2 separate regions of the Homo sapiens genome follow, and region 2 is linked to region 1. Evidence: promoter capture Hi-C in 16 types of primary human blood cells and fetal thymus (Javierre and others, 2016). All regions are on one chromosome and are shown on one strand. The core of a region is centred on a gene start or on the middle of the fragment in contact, and the rest is flanking DNA. Distances in the headings are between cores, read along the strand shown. Region 1 holds the start of LINC01381 (long intergenic non-protein coding RNA 1381). Region 2 has its middle 39 kb from the start of ITSN2.

Region 1 (3,326 bases), core at 349-2,848:
CACACAACTGTAAACATCAGTCAAAATGCACTGAGTTCAATACTTAAAATTGGGGAATGTCACTGTTTGTGAATTATGCCTCAGTAAAAAGCATGCTTTAGAGTCTCTGGGTGTCCAGGTTCACCAGGCACTTTCACATAGATTATCTCCAGCAGCCCAAACAACAGCCCCATTTCACAGATGGAGAAACTGAGGCCAGTGACTTGCCCACATCCCATAGTGGCAGACCTGGGCCCCTCCTTCAGAGCTTGTTGCTCACAGGATATGGGCCTGAGGGATTTTTTTTTTTTTTTTTTTTTTTTTGAGACAGAGTCTCGCTCTGTTGCCCAGGCTGGAGTGCAGTGGCACGATCTTGGTTCACTGCAACCTCCACCTCCCAGGTTCAAGCTATTCTTGTGCCTCAGCCTCTCCAAGTAGGTGGGATTACAGGTGTGTGCCACCATGCCTGGCTAATTTTTTGTATTAGCCAGGGTTTTGCCATGTTGGGCAGGCTGGTCTTGAACTCCTGGCCTCAAGTGAGGCCTCTCAAAGTGCTGGAAGTACAGGCGTGAGCCACTGTGCCCGGCCCGTGAGGGACTTTTGAGAGGACAGGAGCCAGCCATGGCTGGAATAATCCAATGTACAGAGTCTACCTGGTGCGGCTGTTGCTGTCTTGCCCTCGGGGAGTTCAGCCCCTGTAAGAGAGGTTCAGTGGTTCGGTTCTGCTCAGGGGGTTCCTCAGGCCAGTCTGGGAGACACTGGGTGACACTCACATTCCTGCACCCCCTAGTCCTGGCCCCAGTTCACACAGACCACTCGCTGTCATTGGGTAGGTATTAGGGTTCTGAGTCAGATGTCCTCCAAAGAAGGGGTTCTACCACAAATTGAGTTGCCAGATTTAGCAAATAAAAATACAGGCCAGGCCAGGAGTGGTGGCTCATGCCTGGAATCCCAGCACTTTGGGAGACCAAGGCAGGAGAATCACTTGAGCCCAGGAGTTCGAGACCAGCTTGGGCAAAATAGCGAGACGCCCCCCAGCTCTACAAAAAATACAAACATTAGCTGAGTGTAGTGGTGTACATCTATTCTGGAGGCTGAGGCAGGAAGATCTCTTGAGTCCAGGAGTTGGAGGCTGCAGTGAACTATGATTGTGCCACTGCACCCCAGCCTGGGCAACAAAGCAAGTCCTTGTCGCAAAAAACAAACAAACAAACAAACAAAAAACCAGGACAAAACGTTGGAGACATTCTGATACTAAATAGGACATCCTAAACAGGATAGATGTATACTAAAAATGTATCTGTTGCTTATCTGAAATTTGAATTTAACTGGACCTCCTACATTTAACCTGGCAATCCAAACTGAAAAAAAAAACCACCTAAAATTAAAATTAAATTAACAAAATTTAAATTTAATGAAATTAATAAAATTTAAAACAAAACTAAAATGAAAGAAAAAGTAAAATAAAAAAAATTTTTTAAATGAGTTAAATTAAATGAAACGAGAATAAAATCCCAAAAGAGGTGAACACTGCACAAGCGCGCACGCCTGCGCCGAGCGCCCGTGGCCCAGCAAGATGGCGAGGCCGCGCCTTCCCCACCCAGGCGTGGGGTCCTCGGGCCTCTGCGCGGCGCTCGCCCGGGACTGGGACGCAGAGCCGCGGACGGCTTTGGGGACGCCAGGGCTCCGGACTTCCCCGGCGGCGCCTCACGGGCGGCAATCGCCCGCGAGCCTTGGGGCGCGGCACCCAGGGCCTCCCCACCGGGCTCCGAGGGACGCAGCGGCCTCGCCACCGCATTAGGCCGAATCCGGTGCCTTCTAGAAATGGCCTCCTGCAGCTCCAGAGCGCCTGCAGGGTGAGCAGAGGCTGCTCTGTTTTCAAGAAAGCCGCGCGCCCTCATGGCCCCGCAGGGCCCCTCACGGCCTCTGCTGCTCTGGGGAGAAGGTAGCCGGCGCCACCGAGTCCCAGGAGGTCCCCGGACGCCCGCCCGGGCCCCGTGGGAGGGTGACGCCCGTGACAGCTCCTCTAGCTGCACTCTGCTGCCTCTGTCATTCTGCCACTCAAATCTCTGGCCTGACACTGTGCAGGCGGAAACAAGTGGGGGGCCCCTAGGTTTTCCCCCACAAATCTGAATGCTGAAAGGCGCGCCAGAGAACTTTTGCTCACTTGGGGAAAAGCCGATCTGTACCTTAGAAAGGGCAATAATAAGGATATAATATTAAATTAATAATACCTAATACAGTCATAAAGGTCCAGAACCTTATGCCCAGGCACCCCACTCCCTGGGAATGTATCCTAATGAAATAATTCAAAGGAATAACCGTGCCCTAGGCATAATCATGTTCATTATGGCATTATTAGTGTGAGCTAAAAATTGAAAACAACCTCGCCACCTAGCAAGGGAGAATGGTTAAGGGAACGGTTTTACACCCACTAGATGGAATGCCGTGTAGCCAGTAAGTGATTATTGCAAGGTCTGTAGAAACACGGGGAAATGTTTATAATGTAATCTTAATGAAAAATGGTTTAACATGAAATGGTAAATTCTCATGGATCTCAACTCCTTCAGAATTGCTTTTTCTTTTAATCGAAAATGTTATATAGATACTTGCAGATTCACATGCAGTTATAAGAAAATATAGGCCGGGCGCGGTGGCTCACGCCTGTAATCCCAACACTTTGAGAGGCCGAGGCGGGCAGATCATGAGGTCAAGAGATTGAGACCATCCTGGCCAACATGGTGAAACTCCGTCTTTACTAAAAATACAACAATTAGCCGGGCATGTGGCATGTGCCTGTAGTCCCAGCTACTCGAGAGGCTGAGGCAGGAGAATCGCTTGAACCCGGGAGGCAGAAGTTACAGTGAGCCAAGATCGGGCCGCGGCACTCCAGCCTGGTGACAGAGTGAGACTCCGTCTCAAGAAAAAAAAAAAAAAAAAGAAATGATACAGAGATCCCACCTCTACCCAGTTTTCCCCAATGGTAACATCTTGCAGAACTATAGTACAATATCACAACCAGCATATTGACAGGGATGTAACCTGCTGATCTAATGCAGATTTCCCAAATGTTACTTATACTTGTGTGTTTTGTTCTATACAGTGTTATCACAATTGTAAATTACAATTTTACTAGAGCTGGGTTTTTTTTTCTTTTTCTTTTTTTCTTTTGAGACAGAGTTTCACTCTTGTTGCCCAGGCTGGAGTGCAATGGTGCGCTCTCGGCTCACTGCAACCCCCACCTCCCGGGTTCAAGCAATTCTCCTGCCTCAGCCTCCTAAGTAGCTGGGATTATAGGCGTGTGCCACCACACCTGGCTAATTTTGTATTTTTAGTAGAGACAGGGT
Region 2 (3,457 bases), core at 345-2,844, 800 kb before region 1:
TTTCTTTCTTTTTTTTAGTCATATGAATGTCAGATTATAACCTTATTTTCTTAATTGAGTGATAGACACACAGGTATCTATGCTTTTTTAATCTCATTTTCTGGAGTATATATTATATATATTTTATATATATAATATTTATCTTCTTAATAATAAAATTACTTTTAAGTGAAAAGAAAGGTCACCAAAATGTTATGTCTTTAAACTTACAAAGTTAGTTATCACGTTTATTTCTGACTACTCAAAAAATTGCCCTTGCAGTTTAGACAAAATGCTACCCCAGATATCACAGCCAACGAAAGTGAGCTGCAAAGGATTTAGGTCACTAGTTTTAGCCACGTATTTTCATCATGTGCTTTCACTTTTAAATAAAAGAATGTCTTTATTCTTTAAAACATTTGCTTAAGATTTTGAAGCAGATAATATTTTAAAATAGTGGCTCTTAGCTCCTGGCTGTACATTAGAATCGCTCAGAGACTTAAATAACATAAAATATTGATGTCCAACCCCCATCCCAGATTAAATGAGTCAAAATCTCTGTTGGTGGGACCTGGGTTTTGGATTTTTCTTGAAAAATTCCCCAGATTATTCTTACTTAAAGGCATAATTGGAAAGTACCATTTTAAAGCAAATTTCTAAGCCAGCATTTCTAAATGTGGTTTACTGTCTACACCACATTGTTGGTGCAAAATTCTTAAGTGAATAGGAAATAAATTTGGTAGGTTTCTAGCATTTTGAAAATACAAGTAATTGGGAATAGAAAATATCAGAGTGGTCCTGGCACCGTGGCTCACGCCTGTAATCCCAGAACTTTGTGAGGCCGCGGCAGGCAGATCACGAGGTCGAGAGATCGAGACCATCCTGGCCAACATGGTGAAACCCCATCTCTACTAAAAATACAAAAATTAGCTGGGCGTGGTGGCACATGCCTGTAGTCCCAGCTACTCGGGAGGCTGAGGCAGGAGAATTGCTTGAACCAAGGAGGTGGAGGTTGCAGTGAGCTGAGATTGTGCCACTGCACTCCAGCCTAGCGACAGAGCGAGACTCCATCTTAAAACAACAAAAAAAAAAAAAAAGAAAAAAGAAAATATCAGGGTGCATCATATTTTTATTTCTGGAGTGTGTGTATGGGAGAGGTTATGTTTAATGAGTGGTCATGGAAAATACAGGATTTCATACTGTGAGCCACAGTATGTTTGAAAAACAGTTCTAAACAAGCCTAAGGTGCTATTAGGTATTCTTTTAAAACATTTTTAATTGGCAAGTAAAAATTGTGTATATATATTTTATATATATATATAAAATGTACACCATGATGTTTTGATATATGTACACACTGTGGAATAGCTAAGTTAGGTATTTTTCCCTACTGCAAAGTTGATCAAGCAGTAATATTGATACAGGAGTTAAGAAGAAATTACTTAGGCAGATAGTGAGGGCACAGAACTCCTTGGTAAGGTTTTCCTTTTAATGAAAAGCAGCCCCAAATAATTTTCCTTTCTAACAGCAGCCTGTAAAATTGAGCTGCACACGTAGACGCTGGCAGTTATGCCAAGCATGTTAAAAATGGCGGCTCCATCTTCCCTTCTCTGACAGCCACATGCACAGGAAGAAGCAGACAAGATGGCGCTGGCCAAGGGGAAAGTTCATTTGCATAGTATGATTAGAGTGGGTCTGCCAGCCTTCTCCTTGCCCTATGTAAACATCATACCTGATCAAGCCAATCTGCGAGTGCTATGTAAATCAGACACCGCATCCTCAAGCCTGACTATAAAATCTGGCACATCCACTGCCAGCCTTTTCCTCTCCAAAGTCCTCTCTCTCTCACTAGAGAGTGAGCTGTTTTCCTTTCTCTTTCTTTCTTTTGCCTTTTAAACCTCCACTCCTAAATTCCTCATGTGCGTTTGTGTCCTAACTTCTCTTGGTGTGAGATGATGAACCCTGGGTATTTATCCCAGACACTGTAGCTGATTCAATATCATATGATGGTTGCAATGCCTGTGTCCGAATCCTGGCTTTTCCACTCACCAGCTGTATGACTTCAGGCAAATTATCTAACCTCTTTGTGTCTATTCCCTCATCCTAAAAATCTCTTATAGTGCTTGCAGAGGAGTTCAGCAAACTGCACAGTCAGAGGGCACAGTCCTTCAAAGACTGCTCTTCAAACACCAGCTGCAAGTTTGAAGGGCCCCAAGGCCACCCTCAGTACAGACCAACGGGCTACAAATTCAGAGGTGCCCATGACCACCCTCAGGTTCGGTAATTCACTAGAAAGACTCACAGAACTCAGAGAGCGATTATACTCACTGTCACATTTATTACAGGTAAAGGATACAAATTAGAACCAGCCAGAGGAAGAGAATGCGTATGTGGAAGTCTGGCAGGAATCCAAATGCAGAGCTGCTGTCATCCCCATGCTGTGTTCCCCTCCCATCAACAAAGGGGACGATACTGAGAAGGAAACTCACCCAGCTCTTATGTCCAGAATTTTTATTAGGGCTTCGTACAATAGGCACAATTGATTGAATTATTGTCCACGTGGCTGAACCCAACTGCCAGTCTCCCTCCCCTGCCTGGAAGTCAGGGTGAAGTGACGTGGCCCAAAACCCCAGTCTTTTTTTTTTTTAACTTTTAACTAAAAAGTAAACTTGAATGTCGAAAATGCAAACTTGGGGAAGACAGAAAAGATCACACGCAAGGCTGTCACTTCGCACTTGGAAGGTTGCACAGTGGCCGGGCAGAGGCGCTCCTCACTTCCCAGACGGGGTGGCGGCCGAGGAGAGACGCTCCTCACTTCCCAGACGAGAAAGCCCCAGTCTTCTAATCACTTGGTCTTCTCTCGTGGCCAGCCCCACCTTGAATCATCTTGTTAACATAAACTATCTTGTAACGGCCTTGTTACTGATAACTATCAGGTGTGGTCCAAGGTGCTTGTCATGAATAACAAAAACATTCCCACACCTGGAAAAAAAAAAAATCTCAAAGAGTTGGCCAGGTGCAGTGGCTCATGCCGGTAATCCCAGCACTTTGGGAGGCCGAGGCGGGCAGATCGCTTGAGTCCAAGAGTTTGAGACTAGCCCAGGTGACACAGCGAAACCCTGTCTGTACAAAAAAATACCAACATTAGCTGAGCGTGGTGGCATGACATGTAGTCCCAGCTACTTGGGAGGGTGAAGTGGGAGGATCGTTTGAACCTGGCAGGTGGAGGTTGCAGTGAGCTGAGATCACACCACTGCATTCCCAACCTGGGCAACAGAGTAAGACCCTGTCTCAAAAACAAAAAACAAAACAAAAAATCTCAAGGGTCTAGAAATGACCCCCCTGAACTAAGACAAAAGCCAGACCTCACTTTGGAGGTCAAATTCCTTACTAAACAAGTGGTTGTGAGGATTAAACGAGCACATGTATATGGGAAACTCTTAGAATATTGCCTGCTATGTGGTAAGTGCTCCTAGAT

What was found. The method cuts DNA at HindIII sites, captures the fragments that hold promoters and counts their contacts. A CHiCAGO score of 5 or more calls a contact.
Region 2: a fragment that was not itself captured here is called in contact with the fragment with the promoter of LINC01381 in region 1 in 1 of 17 cell types (naive CD8 T cells); the score reaches 5.5 in naive CD8 T cells.

What each region holds. Positions count from the first base shown.
Region 1 is chr2:25,202,715-25,206,040 of GRCh38, forward strand. It overlaps LINC01381 (long intergenic non-protein coding RNA 1381), which reads left to right and starts at 1,599. Exons shown (of 2, transcript NR_132378.1): 1 at 1,599-1,835. RefSeq lists a silencer at 1,597-1,936. The HindIII fragment of the contact is 10,460 bases long and covers 1-3,326 here.
Region 2 is chr2:24,397,918-24,401,374 of GRCh38, forward strand. No RefSeq gene overlaps it. Among named protein-coding and RNA genes, the nearest start is that of ITSN2, 39 kb to the left of the region's middle. RefSeq lists enhancers at 1,543-1,837, 2,244-2,744. The HindIII fragment of the contact is 6,016 bases long and covers 1-3,457 here.